2 separate regions of the Homo sapiens genome follow, and region 2 is linked to region 1. Evidence: promoter capture Hi-C in human tissues and cell types (Jung and others, 2019). All regions are on one chromosome and are shown on one strand. The core of a region is centred on a gene start or on the middle of the fragment in contact, and the rest is flanking DNA. Distances in the headings are between cores, read along the strand shown. Region 1 holds the start of ADCY2 (adenylate cyclase 2). Region 2 overlaps LINC02236 (long intergenic non-protein coding RNA 2236).

Evidence for each region. The method cuts DNA at HindIII sites, captures the fragments that hold promoters and counts their contacts. A contact is called where the count stands out against the background at its distance.
Region 2: a contact is called between a fragment that was not itself captured here and the fragment with the promoter of ADCY2 in region 1, in 2 of the 25 tissues and cell types used here (dorsolateral prefrontal cortex and hippocampus).

The regions. Positions count from the first base shown.
Region 1 is chr5:7,391,534-7,398,982 of GRCh38, reverse strand. ADCY2 (adenylate cyclase 2) reads right to left here and starts at 2,845. Exons shown (of 25, transcript NM_020546.3): 1 at 2,477-2,845. The coding sequence starts at 2,686. LOC107986403 (a long non-coding RNA gene) reads left to right here and starts at 3,034. Exons shown (of 2, transcript XR_001742597.2): 1 at 3,034-4,907; 2 at 5,009-7,449. LINC02142 (long intergenic non-protein coding RNA 2142) reads right to left here. Exons shown (of 4, transcript NR_183263.1): 4 at 7,079-7,449. RefSeq lists enhancers at 2,764-3,529, 3,530-4,295. The HindIII fragment of the contact is 8,449 bases long and covers 1-6,384 here.
Region 2 is chr5:6,796,135-6,803,583 of GRCh38, reverse strand. It overlaps LINC02236 (long intergenic non-protein coding RNA 2236), which reads right to left. Exons shown (of 2, transcript NR_146281.1): 1 at 7,239-7,449. Among named protein-coding and RNA genes, the nearest start is that of LINC02236, 4.0 kb to the right of the region's middle. The HindIII fragment of the contact is 3,558 bases long and covers 978-4,535 here.

The DNA of each region.
Region 1 (7,449 bases), core at 1,596-4,095:
ATGAACACAGCTTTACCTTAGCCCTATTCTACCTTCAAATGTTCCTACCCCAGCCATCGCTGACTATCTGGATGGAGAACGTGTTTTGGAAAGCAGAGATGCTGGTTATGGTGTTTCTAAAATCAAAATAGAAACAGGCTGTTGGGAGCCCAACATCATCCCAGTCCCGACTCAGGTCCGGTTTCAGAACACAGGGCACATTTCTCCTAGGCATAGCTCCTTCCGACTTGGTCCTGCAGCTGGTCTCTGCCTGAAGGTGGCTTTTCTATCAGACTGAGTAACCCTCCCTGATTCTGGAACATTTCTGCACAGCTTATCTCTTTGAAGGGTGCACATAGTAGACATGAGACCATGAATTAGGTATGGCCAAGGACAGGATTCATTTCACTGTCTCTGGACCTCACCATAGGTGACAGCCATGCTGTGGGAAATGCCCACTTTGTGCTTAAAATGATTTAGCTGAAGGCAAGAGGAGCATTAAAATGATTGATTTATCAAGGAAAAGTAAAGATGCGTGGAAAACGCTTTGAAAAGGGTACCACTAACACATATGCACCAAGCAAAATGGAACATAAAGGAATTGAATATAGACACACAAATACAAAGAACAAAGACAATTCAAAGAAGGGTGCTTTAAGCCCAATAATGCTAAATCTCTGAGTGACCCATTCAAGAATCTCTATCAATGAGGTTTAAGAAATTAGAATTCTCCATCACAGAAAACAAAGTGGTGTGTGCAGAGGAAGCATGAATTTCACACTTGTCTTTAAATATATTAATGCTGCTATAAATAGGTCATCACCTGCTCCTTTCCATTTAGAAGAGAACAAGCCAGAGCAGGTTTGAATTACAGGTTCAAGAGAATCACAAGCTGAAATGCCCCAGCAGAACAGATTTCCAAAGGAAAACTCTGATGTTTCTTTTCTTCCTGGCAAGTAAAAAATAATAAGTAGATGACTTTAGAGATCCTGCTTGCCCATGAGACTGAGCAGAAGTCTCTCCCCAAGTCCTTTTTGTTCCTAAAAGTAGTAAAGAGAGATAAAAATGCCATTCCAGAGAGCATAGAAGGCTGGTTACATGTGGAGAGAGTGAGGGTTTCTCCGGACTCCTATCTAGACTACAGGGATCAAAAGTTACTCTCTGCTCTAGGTTTGATAGTACAAGAGCCAGTGTGTGATCTGTGACTTCATGGCCTCCTACATTCTATTTCTATTCTTACCTCATTGAACTCAATCAGTAGACAGCTACCATTGAGTGGTGTGGGGGAATTTTTTTATTTTTTAAAAACATGATGGTAACAATTCTTCCCATGCATAACATTTGAACACCATCTGGCTCCGGACATCCTAAACAAATTGCCAAATACCAAGGACAGCTATTTTATGCATGGTGAAATATAAGCAAAATCCACTTCTTTGGTGGTGGACACATATAAATATAGGCACATATTTATATTCTAAGCTCAAAATACATCACCCAGTGGACACATTCACAGATCAACCACTGACTAAAAAAAAAAAAAAAAAAAAAAAAAAAACTCACTGGTGGATAATCAATGCCTCGCACAAAATCTGCACATGCATGTCACAGGCAGTGCAAAAGTTTGAACCACACACTCAGAGATCAGTAACAGGAAGTTATCGCCATCTACAGACTTCCCCTCACTTTTCAAGGGAGCGAGCCAAGGATTTCTGCTTGAAAAATATAAACTGGCAAAACTGACATCAGCTGTTGAGCTGCATTATACTCCTCGTGATGAAATCCACTTTAATAACCTGTCCAAAACCCTAAACACGTTACTTCTTTAGAAACGGGAAAGCAATCGTCCGTCCCAAACGCTTCTTAACTGTAGTCTCTGAGATGAAAGATTGATTCACAAGTCAACACCACATCACTTTCCGTCTATCGGGCTAAAGAGCTAAATGCATACAGATTTAAAGGCAAAGATGTATACTTAATTTTTCTTCTTCATTTTCCTTGTCATTAACCACTTTCCCAAGGCAGGCTTTCTGCAGAGTTGAATAACGCCCAATCCCAACTAAAATGCCAACTGTGGGGCCATGCCAGTGGAACCGGGCAGGAGACAGCGACTCGCCCAGGAAGCCCAGGGCTGAGTCGGGGAAGACCTATTCCAGCGCTGCGGGCAGCGGTGCCCGGCGGAAAGCGCAGAGTTTGCCAGCGGGTGCGCAAAGATGCAAAAAGCACACGCCCTGCCCGTCCACCTGGTGAACACCTCGGGAACTTTATTTTGGGAAGAGCCTTCCCAGGAAACTTTTCTCCCGCCCGCAGCCCTTGCCAGAGTCCACCGGGCCGCGGGCCAGCAGGAGAAGCAGGGAGCCGCGGGCCGAGGGGCTGCCGCGGGCCGAGGGGCTGCCGCGGGCCGAGGGGCAGCCCGGAGCGGGACGCGGCTCGGCTGGCCGGGCTCCTCTCAGGGCCGGGGAAGGCGCGGCGCTGGACCCGCGGGGAGGCCACTCACCAGCCCGAGCGCGAAGAAGACGGCGAGCAGGGCGAGGCAGGAGCCCATGACGATGAGCAGCAGGAAGACGATGAGCGGGTGCTGCTGGCTCATGCAGTAGTAGGACTCGTAGAGCCAGTCCCGGGACCGCGGCAGCCCGTCTCCGCCGCCCGCCGCCTCCTCGGAGCGGTCCCGCAGGTAGCGGCGGCGCCGCATCGCCTCCTGCCACATCGGGGCCGCTCACAGGGCGCCCGCCGTGCGCGCCCGGCCCGGGCAGCGCCGCTCGCCGCGGCCGCCCGCGTCCCACCCCCGCGCCGCCTCGGCCGGCCCGGCTGCCGGCACCCGGAGCTGCGCGCAGGGGCCTCCGGCGCGGGCGGAGCTCGGCGCCCCGGGCTGGGCGCGCTGACGCGCGGGCGGGGGCCGGGCGGCGGCCTCGGGGGCAGCTCCCGGCGCCGCCGCCGCCACCGCCACCGCGCGGGAGGGGGCGGGTTCCACGGGGCCCTCCGCCCGCCGCTCCCCGCCCCGCGCGCAGCCGGCCTCCGTGCAGGGGCGGTGTCGGCCCCCACCCGACGGCCCGGCTGCAGGCTGGGGACGGCGGGGGCTGTACGGTGGGGGGAGTGGCGAACTGAGGGGCTCCCGCTGCGCCCCGGCCCGGGGTCGTCCTCGCCCGCCGGCCTCCCACACTCAGCCACCAGGTCGTCCACCTCCTCTGCCCTATCCCGAGTGCAGCGTGGGTGGGGTGGGAGGGACGGCCCTCCCCGCTACGAAGTGAGAACACAGCCTAAGGGGTGGAGGGAGGGAGTCCTACCCCCACCACTCCCCCCGCCCCACCTGGCTCGGAGCACTGCGGGGCTCCTCAGCTCCTCTCCACTACCTCAAGGTCAGCGGGCAGGGACGCTGCCACCCTCCTGTTTCCTCCACCCCTTAGTGGGCTGCGGGGCCTGCTCCCACCCTCCCCCACAGTCACAGAGCGCAGCCGGGGTCAGAGGACCCGGGGGGTCCCTCCTTTAGTACGCGGGTCAGAGGACAGCGGGGTCTCCCTCCTTTTCACTCTTTTGGGGAGCTGGAGAGGATTTCCCACCCTTCCCGCCTCCCCGCGGTGGGCACCGGTTTGCCGTCCAGCCCTTCTTCCCCTCAGCGTAGCAGGGTTGAGGGCTCCCCCATCCTCTCCACCCTCTTGAGAGGGCCGGGGCTCCCTGCGAGGGCGGCAGGGCGCGGAAACGCCAGGGGACCTAACTGGAGACCGGCACCATGTGGAAGTGAAGCGGCAGTGACTGCACTGGGAGCCCCCGCCACGGCCTCGCGGGGGCAGCGTCCGTTGCGCCCTGCACGCTCAGCTTCAGTCACACTTTGGAGGTGCCGTATAAGCCTGTCATATCACAGGTTTACAGAGCTGCCCCGTGGCTGGTCGTGGTCCTCGCCGAGCCCCTCTGCTGAGCGGGGATGGCGGCAAAGGGGCGCCGGGGAGAGCGGCTGGGCGCGGGAGCGGGCGGGTCGGCCCTGGGAGTAGCTCCCTCCCTGTCACCTTGGGGGCCTGGACGCAGGAGGCGCTAGAGACCCGGCAGGAGCGTTGTGGGGGCGGATGTCACCAGGGACAGTGTCCCCTCCCGACACGCGTGGGAGCGGAGGCCGCTGGCCTTCGCCCTGGGGGCCGAAGGGGCTTCATTGCTTATCACCAAAGGAACCCACCCTTCTGGAAGTTTCCTCCTATTCGAGTGTGGTCCGGCCCAAAGAGCCCCCAAATCCCACCTCCTCCCCCAAAGCCTTACCCCAAGGAATCCAAGGCACAAGAGCCCTCCCTTCTCCTGCCACCAGCGAGCATCCCAGAGGGCAGCCCCAGAGGGCTGTTCCATGCACTTTTCATCTCTTCCAGGAGATGACCAGCTCTCAGGACTCAGCCTTGTCACCACCTAAGACCTCAGAACCTTCTCGAATGGCCCCATGCCCCGCCTCCCTGGCTGTCCTGTCCTCCTCGCTGGCAGAGGGCATGTAAGCTAGGTAGCTGCGTTACCCTGAGCACAGGGCCAGGCCGGGCACGGATCCTTCCAGAGGTTTTCATTTTAGCATCCGTCAGTGCCCACAGGGCCTAAGGATGAGGGCTCAGGAGCTGCACAGCTCACCCGCAGATCTCATAGACACCAGAGGCAGGGAGGTGGCCGAGGAGACTGGGCCCAGGGCTGCGTGCAGTACCTCAGGTCCGGCCCCACCAGGCTCCCTGGTCCCTGGACTTCCCTCCTTCTGAGGACCTGGAAACAAGGAGTGGAGGAGGAGGCAATGGGTGGGGGGGTGTCCCCCTGAAGCCTCCTGTAGGTCCCAAGGCTCACCTCCCACCGTGGGTCATCCTGCCCTAGCAGCAGAAAGAAATTCTCTTCCCTGCAGTGTTTATGGACTGCTGCCCCCACCCTGTCCTGCCTGCCCTCCACTCCAACACCCTCCTGTGACTGTAACCCAGGTAATTTCAACCTCAGACCCTCCCACCAAACCTCACTGGGCTGGATGCTTTGGGCTCGGTGCTTTGCTATGAACCTCAGGATGTGATTACTATACTCCCAGATTTTAGGTTTTTGAAGGTTCTGAGAGCAAGCTTCCATGACAGACAACACTGATGAATCCGCGGTATAAATATCCAGAACCCAATCCCTTCCAAGGAAACACGGTTGAGTGGGAAGCTGGACACGGTTTCTATTGTGTTGGTTCTGTCTTCCTCCGGCTGTGTGCTTGGTCTTTCTGGGGCGGGCAGAGTTGCACATTTCCAGTCCTTTCCTGTGCTAGCAACAGACTAATTATTCATCTTCTCTTCAATCTTTGCTGCTTCTTTACCCCTTGTATTGATACATGTTTGTCTTCACCCACTCAAGAAGGGAGAAAAAATAAATAATCCGTCATTTAGGTTTATGCGAAAAGAGCTGAAAAACTTATGAGGAAAAGGAAATGCTTAATTACTGTCTCCTTCTTCCTAGTGGGGAAGTGGAATCTTTTAAATATCCAGTATGTATACCATATATATGTTCTCTGTATGGTAAAGGCAGTCTTAAGACTTTTAAGAAATTTTGTTACAATGTAATGACATGGAGATTATTTTGCCCTTGATCTTTTTGAATTTTTTTTAATTCACTCATCCTTCCATTAGTTTATTAAACTAACATTATGTGCCTACCATGTGCTGGATGAAGGGGGCAGGGTGAAGGCGTGGGAAAGACAGGGATCCTGGGACCCTTGTAATAGTTTCCAATTTACTTTGAAAAGTAAGGCTACAAGAAGTGAAACAGGAACAAAAATCAACATTCCTACTCCTCCTTTCCTCCTGAACACTACAATTTAAATTTCATCATCATAGACACAGGACTTAGAAGGAAAATAATATAAAAATGAAGAATATGTCAGTGCTTCTCTGAGGCTTTGTTTGATCTTTGTTTTGTTTTGATGCTTATTTTTATGCGGGCTTCTGTCATTGCTTTATGTTTAATACCAAAAAAAGTGAAACAGTACAATCATTACAGTTTCTGTATTCATGTTTTAGAATCGATTGCACTAAGTATGCCTTTTAAAAAGTTCTCCACAAGTTTGTATTTCAAAAAGGAAAAAAAGAAAAAAAGAAACAAAATAATAACTTACAAGCCATATGAAGTAAAATGAAAAACGTCCTTTAGTACAAAGCCAGGAGCGTGAAATATGGACTCTTGAAACTAAAGGGACCCCAAAGGAGACCTCTGGTTCATTTCTGTGTCTCTGGGTAGCAGGGCTGCCACTCCAAGGGTAAGGCCTGGAGAGCAAGAGGTTCTCCCATATATTTACTCTGTAGCAATTTATTTGTTGCAAAAAGAAACCTGCTGGGGAATCTCTAACTGGGCCTGTGGGAGAAAAAATAAAAAGCAAACATCAGGAAGCAGAATTCCTCTTTCCTGTAACGCTAGAGGGCAGCCCTCTATCCTCATAACCCAGCAAGCAAGGCTGACTTTTTGGATCTGTGACTTGTGCAGCTGGTTTAAGGTTCTGCTGTCACCACCCTGAAATTCTTCAAAATTTTTGATCAAAAGGTTCTGCATGTCCGTTTTGCCCGCGGCCTTGCAAATTAGAAAGCCCATGCTGGTAACAGGTCACACTAAACAGCACTCCATTCTGGGCCTGCAGGCAGAGCCTACGGCAGGCCAGCCAAAGGAGAAGGCCTCCTCTGCCTGCGAACTCAAGCCCATCCCCTCCTAATGTGGTCACCTCTCAGGGATTACATACACACTAAGACACACCTAATCGATTATAAATCTAAGCAATCACGCTGCAGGATAGGTTTATGCATCAGTGGGTTTTGGTTTAAAAATAACCCATCTTCTAGCTCCTATTTCAAATCCAGTTAGATTAGCTCAGTCAATGACGCCGTCGTGTTCCTCTCAACATCCACAGGGCTCTGATTGATTAAATCAAGGCAGCCCAGCAAACTGCGCCAAGGTCAGAAGCGAACGTGTGCCAGCCAACCTGGGGCAGATTGTAGAGCTGAGCACAGAGTCTTTCCCTGTGTATTCATTTTTCTCTCTGGCAAATACATTACTAAAATTTATATAATAAAGTATGAACAGTATGTCAACAGATTCATTATCGCCATGAAATATGCTTTGTGTACCCAGATAACATTTACATTTTTATTGAACCAGAGTCTGGGAATACAGAATCCACCCAACCCAAGCCAGTTTATGGCTCTTAGAAGTCAAATTAACTCTTTCAGTTCATTTAAGTACTCCTTTGCAGTTCAGTTTCCAAAGCATCAACAAAACGTTGCTGACTGTAAGATTAATATGTTCATTTTCTTGTCCATCCAGTGCTGAATGGTCCCTACGTGCCTTTAAAAGACGCTTCTTAATTGGCTTATTTGATAAATTAAATTTTCAGGGACAATACCAGAATCAATATTTCAAAAAATCATCTGTAAAACCTGATTTGGAGTGACTTACTGAGATTTTTGGCCCTTAACATGTGAGAAGATGGTACTGGTATTTCAGAAC
Region 2 (7,449 bases), core at 1,507-4,006, 600 kb after region 1:
ACATTAATCAAATAAATGCAGTGACTTGTTTTATCCTCACAAAATGCACTGACATTGCTTTCAAGATCTAGTCCATTTTGCAGATGAGAAAAGTTAACTTGCCCTAGGTCCAGTGAGTGAAAGCAGATAACGGAGATTTGGGCCTAGGGAGGCTAGGTCCAGAGCCCATACTCATAACAAACACGTCACCCTCTCTAAACTGTACCACCCGTGAGTACAGTAACAGCTCATTCAGAACAACTAATATTCTCACGTGTTTCAGGAGCGCAAATGTAGGAGAACTCACTTCCAACTGAGGTAATCAGGGAATTTTAAGATGCGGGTTCAGTTACACCAAGACAAATATGACAGAAGTAGAGAAATAATTCCCATCTGAGGAGACTGTGCAAGCACAGAGGTAGCTTCCCAGCTGCCCTCCACCTAGTGCATCCCATTAGCACCCATCCTGACCTTTTTCTACTCTCTCAGGGGAATCGGAGCTTCCCTCATTTCCAAAACAGGAGCCACTTCACTGTACCTGCTGTAGCGACCACACACCATCAAATGGGACTTGTCCCACTCCAACTGTCTTCTTCTCCTCCATCCTAAAAGAAGCTTCTACTCTCTTCCTCTTCTCTTCACTGACCACCTTCCTGAAAATGATGAGTTACATGTTCTCCTGGATTACTTAAGTAATCAAACAAAGCTTTCATTTGCCTGTGACACAGGTAATGAGAGCAGCTCTTCTTGACGTATAATTGAAACAGAAAAACCCTTTTTAAATTTTTTTAACTGTTAAGTTCAGGGGTACAAGTGCAGGTTTGTTACGTAGGTAAACTTATGTCATGGGGGTTTGTTGTACAGATTATTTCCTTACCTAGGTATTAAGCCTAGTTCCCATTAGTTATTTGTCCTGATCCTCTCCCTCCTCCCACCCTCTGCCCTCCTCTGCTAGACCCCAGTGTGTGTTGTTCCTGCCATGTGTCCATGTGTTCTCATCATTTAGCTCCCACTTATAAGTGAGAAGATGCAGTATTTGGTTTTCTGTTCCTGCGTTAGTTTGCTAAGGATAATGGCCTCCAGCTCCAACCATGTCCTTACAAAGGACATGATCTCATTCTTTTTTATGGTTGCATAGTATTCCATGGTGTATATGTACCACATTTTCTTTATCCAGTCTATCAGTGGAACCCAGAATCAAAAGTGGCATATGCTGGTGCCTCAATGATCCACCTGAAGAGAGAAAAAAACTTAAAGGAAAAGAAAACTGATTGGATCAACATAGAAAGCTTGGGAAGACTTGCATCTGACTCCCTCTCTTCCTTCCCTAGCCTAATACTTAATCCCTCACCAATCTTAGTAAGTTACACACACCAAAAGCTCAAAACTCCCAGTTGAAGCCCTCCTTCACCTTCATGCCTTAAAAAAAAAAAAAGAAAAAAAAAAACTCCTAAATGCCAGGAGTTGTAGTAATCAAAGGACATGAGGACATGACCCTGATGGGATACTTTAGCCACACCATTACTTTACAATGGCATGGAGAATCTTTAAGAAATCATGCCCCAAATTTGTGCTATAAGTGTCCCAAAGTTTGAGAATTCCATTATAATTGCAATGAAGTTAGTTACACAGGTTCCATTGTTTTAAGGACTACTCAGCTTAAGGAGGAAACGTTCCAGCCTGTGGCCACTGAAGATGCCTCTGATGCAAAACGTTTAACATTTACAAGTAAAAGTTTTAAATCCCGAGTGATTCCATAGGGCAGCAGTCACCAGCCTTTTTGGCACCAGGGACCAGTTTCGTGGAAGATAATTTTCCATGGACTGTGGTCAGGGGTGATGGTTTCGGGATGATTCAAGTACATTACATTTATTGTGCACTTTATTTATATTATTATTACATTTAATATATAATGAAATAATTAGACAACTCACCATAATGTAGAATTCAGTGGGAACCCTGAGCTTGTTTTTCTGCAACTAGATGGTCCCATCTGGGGGTGATAGGAGGCAGTGACAGATCATCAGGCATTAGATTTTCATAAGGAGTCCACAGCCTAGATCCCCGGCATGCACAGTTCACAATAGGGTTCGAGCTCCTGTGAGAATCCAATGCTGCTGCTGATCAGACAGGAGGAGCTCAGGCGGGAATGTGACCAATGGGGAGTGGCCATAAAGACAGACGAAGCTTCGCTTACTCACCTGCCTCTCACCTCCTGCTGTGTGGCCCAGGTCCTAACAGACCACTGACCATACCAGACTGGTCCTTGGCCTGGGGTTTGGGGTTCCCTGCCATAGGGTACAGAGTGTACTGATGTCAAATCAAGTCAACAAACTATGAAAAAGAAAGTCAAAACATGTGCCCCAAACTTCCACTTCTAAGTAGTAGGTAACAGCCAATGCCCCTGATCTCAGGAACTAAGAAACAAAAGAATAAAAAATCATTTTCGAAGCATTGGAGAGATGTGGAATCAACAAAGAATAAATAAACTAAACTTTCAGAGAGAAAAGCCAGTAAGAGGGAGATGATGGTTGGCATCTGTTTTTCCCTGGAAACATCTTCCTGTACTGTTAAATAGAAGCCCAGTGATCAGATTTAGGTCAGGTAGAAGACGCCGCTAGAGGAAGGAAAACCAGAAAAGCTTTCAGTGGTGCCATAGGGCTAGGGTGACAAATCATATCTCAGGTGAGGGCCCTGCAATGCATAGCTGATTTTACCCACAAGACATTTGATTTTTTTTTTTTTTTTAGCTGAGTAGTCAGGGGAGTGGAGGCCTAAAGAGCTAGGCTAAAAGTTCCTGAAAGGCAAAGTAAAATTTCTGTCAATATTTGTGACTAGGAAACAAAAAACTTCCCAGGGAAGGAACCTGAAAAGAAATCCAGCACAAGATGAAAGCCTGTGAATTGACACCAGGATCTGCAGCCACTCTTTTGGGGGCACCAGACAAATGTGGGTATCAAGGCTCAGCCCCTGGCAAGAGGCTGCTGCTGCTGGAGACAGAAAACAAAGCAAAGACTTTAGTGTTTGTCAAGGACAAAATTAGCGGGTAGGGCATCCAACCCAAGCATTCTCTCCATCAAGACCTTTGCCAAATTCTGAAGGTGACGAGGTCAGGAGTGTGAGTGCTGAGCTTAAATTTCTCTAAGGCCAAGCTGAATCACCCACAATCATTCAGAACTCAGGATGCAAAGACTTTCCAAGCTCTCAGATAAAGCCCTGAGAACAGAGGTAGGTTGAGTCTGATCAAAACTACACCAATCCCTAATGGTTGGCCCTTGGGAATCAACCTCCTCTGCCTTAGAGAGGAGACACAAAACACTTTCATGTGGAAAAGAACATCATTGGAACCTCTACAGTCTTTTATACAAAATATTCAGCTTACAAGAAATTATTAGATCTGTGAAAAGATAAGACCATAGGCTCAATGTGCTTTAATGTTTTTAAAAGCAAACAACAGAATTAGGTTCACAAGTGACCCAAATTCTAGATACAATAGACAATTATTTTAAAATAATTATGATTAATATATTCAAGAAAATAGAGGAAATGAGAGGCAATATAAATAGAATAATGGCAATTTGCAATTAAGAATTAGAATTATTTTTTAAATAAACTATAGAACTAAAATCATAATATCCAAAATTAAGAATGCAATGAATAGTTTTAACAGTAGATTGGACATAAAACTGGTGAACTGGAAAGCAATGCAATAGAAAAATACCCAAACTGAAGGAAAGAAACTAAAAAGAAAAAAATGATTTTAAGAAATTAAGAGAAATAAGGGATATATTCAAAATGTCTAAACAATATATAATTGCATTACCAGGGAGGAGAGAGAATGAGAAGCAATATTCAAAGAGATAATGACTAAAAACATTCCAAACTGATGAAAGACATCAACCCACACATTCAAGAAATTCAGCAAACTTCAAGCAAGATAAATATAAAGAAAATCACACCTAGATACATCATCGATGTCAGCTTTCTAAAAATCAAGGACAAGAAGAAAATATTAAAATCAGCCAAACAAACAACACATTTCTTTGGAATGAGAAAAAAAAGAAAAAAATTAATAGCTGACTTCTCAAAAGAAATCTTAGAAGCAGATAACAAGCCAGGCATGGTGGCTCATGCCTGTAATCCCAGCACTTTGGGAGGGCAAGACGGGCAGATCACTTGAGGTCAGGAGTTCAAGACCAGCCTGGCCAACATAGTGAAACACCAAAACCCCGTCTCTACTAAAAATACAAAAATTAGCCGGGCATGGTGGCAGATGCCTGTAATCCCAGCTACTCAGGAGGCTGAGGCAGAAGAGTTGCTTGAACCTTGGAGGCGGAGGCTGCAGTGAACCGTGATCGCATCAGTGCATTCCAGCCTGGGCGAAAGAGCAAGACTCCATCAAAAAAAGGAGAAGGAAGGGGATGGGGAGTAGGAGGGGAAATCATGGAAACAGAAGATGGGAAATTTGTAACCTTATATGCTTTATTAAAGCAAAAGGAAGAAAATTACAAACAAAGAACAGAGCAGAATTTCAGTAAATTTTTTTAAAAATCTTTAAAAATCAACAAGGTCAAAAGTTATGCTTTGAAATGATAAATCTTTAGGAAAATTGAACAAGAATAAAACACTAACTACCTAATAAGAAAGAAAAAATGAACTATAACTACAGATCCTACAAACATTAACAAGATAGAAGAATATTATGAACAAATTTACTCCAGAAGATGTGGCTATCTGGATTACATCAATAAATTCCTCAAATACAATTTACCAATTCTAACAGAAGAATAGAAAATGTGAATAGTCTGATATATATTAAAGAAATTATTATATAATTTACAATAATTAATTTATTATTCAGTTTTTTCAGTAGATTATTATTGAATTTATTATTAATATTTCCACACAAAAAAACCCAGGCACAGGTGGATTTTTCATTTCACAGGAACAAATAACAAGTAATATATTAGACTATTAAAAGACTATAAGGAGAGGAAATATTTCCCAACTTTTATGGATGAATCTCTCTCAGAACATATACTCAAAAATTATTTTAAAATATTAGCATAGTAAGTTCAGTGATATATACAAAAGATACCATATTATGAAGAAATAGGGTTTATTTCAGGACTGGAAGAACAGTTTTGCTTTTAAAGGCAATCAGTCTAATTCATGACATCATCAGGAAAAAAACTGGGGAAAAATCATGCTTTCATGTTAATGCAAAACATTAGACAGAATTCAACACTCATTCATGATTTTTTATAAAAACTCAAACTAGCAATATGGACAATATATATGGAGATTCTTTGGGGAAAATGGCAAAGATCTATTTCTTGATATGAGTTATCATTGCAAGGGCTTCCATCTTGAAATAATTCGCTAAGCTATACATTTATTATGAGTGGGATTTTTCTGTGTCTATGATTTATTTTACAATAAAATGTAAATAAAAAGGGAAGAAGTTGGAGAAGTTAGTAAGATAACCTGAATATCATGAATCCCATTAAGAACTTATTTTTTTCAAACTGTGATGAGTGTCTGCACCTGTGTTCACAACTGGAAATTCATTATGTCTCACATCATCTTTAAATTTAAGTGAAGCAACACTATGCAGTCTTACTCCATAAAAATGACTTATTATCTTTAGATGATTCATTTACAGGTTTAGTAAGGGAAAAATGTGTGACATCCTTCAATTTCATGGCTAGAATGCTGAACAAATAGGATTCCAACATCATAAATTTATTTTACCCATCACAATGCAGTTATATATTATCTTTAATGTTCTCACGGGCCTTGCAATTTTTTGATAGGAGAGTTTGCAATTATTTGAAGAGATGCAAACAAAGAAGGACTGAGGGAAGGAAGGTGTGTGGAGTGTATTTGGGGTGTGTATGTATAACGTGATTGTGTTTATTTCTAGGTGATCTGTGTTATTATGTATGTGAGTGTGTGTAATATGCATTTGGTGTGTGTGAGGGATGTCTGTGCATATTTGTGTATATCTGTGTGTTGTGTATGTATGTGTGGTGTGTGTGTATTGTGTGGCACATGTGGCATTGTGTTTCATTGTATTGTAGTGTATTACGTGGTGTGTGTAGTGTGTGTATTCTTTGGTGTATATGTGGTATATGTCTGTGTTGCACTGTATGTGTGTTATATGTGCACTGTGCAGTAAGTGAAAGGTGTTTGTGTGTGTATTGTGTGCGTGATATGGTTAGAAGACTATACATTCATTAACAGAGTTATTTTGAAAAACTCGTAATCCATCCAGGAAAGGGCTACCCAGAAGGTTGAGTCTAGAAATCCTACCATGAAGGAATAGAAAGAGCAGGGAAAGATAAACTTGAATAGGAGACAATTTAGAAAATGAAAGTGAGATTTTTTTTAATTGGCTGAAAATGTCCAAAAAGGAACTCATGAAAAGGGACAAGGCTCTCTGTGTGGATACAGAAGGCAGAACGGAAGCTTGTTATTTGAAATGCAATTAGACATCTAAAAAAATGCAATTTACTCCTTGCTGAGTGGAGAATTTTCTGTCACAGTGGGTGTGCAAGTAGAGATGAAATGCAGAGCTATCGGGGTTGGGCCAGATAACCTCAAGATGCTCTCAACTGCGAAAGGGTTAGAAAGAAGAATAAAGAGTGTGCTAGACCATGCCCAGCCCTAGCCATCCCCATGCCATCCCTGGCAGGTGCTCAACAGAACCATGCTCTTGGGAGGCACAGTGAGATTATTGGTGGCTGCTCCTTGGATGGTTCCCAATGAACTCAACGCTGAGGGAATCCACTCCAATACCCTCTCCTTGAACTGGAGAGCTATTACTCAGATCAAGATACAGGCAATCTCAGAATTAAAATCTAAGCGAAGAGGAAGGGTCGTAGATCGAGATCATCAGAAGCCAACACCATGGGGTACAGCATTGCCCATTCAATGGGTGGTAATGGAAGCAATGAGAAGTGTGGGGAGCAGAAGAAAATTTAGCTCTGCTCTTGCTTCTAACAATGTTCCACACATTTCCTGTGTTAAACAAGTAACTCAGCTTAGCTTATGGAGTCAAGGCCCATCCACTTTTCCCAACACAGCCACAAGCCCGGAGAAATCTAGAAAATAATACAGTCATTAGCTTTAACTACGGGCTTTCAAAATTTATCTGTAAACACGCATGCTATTTTTTCAAAAGGCAGGATTTGGCCTGAGCAACAAGCACAATTGAGAGTCTGTGGAGTCACCTTTGTGTATTATGGAATACACACCCATAATCCATGCAGTTTTTAGCAGTGGAATCTATCTTCTGCTTCCATCCCATGTTACACATCACTTCTGGCTCCATCCCATTCATCTTCTAGGACATGAGGGCTGGGAATGAGACTTGGCAATGCCACAGTTGCTCCTGCCTGGTACGAATTAATTTTTAGGTAATTCAGTAGTGGCCAAGCATATCTTTACAACCATCCAGCTCAACTC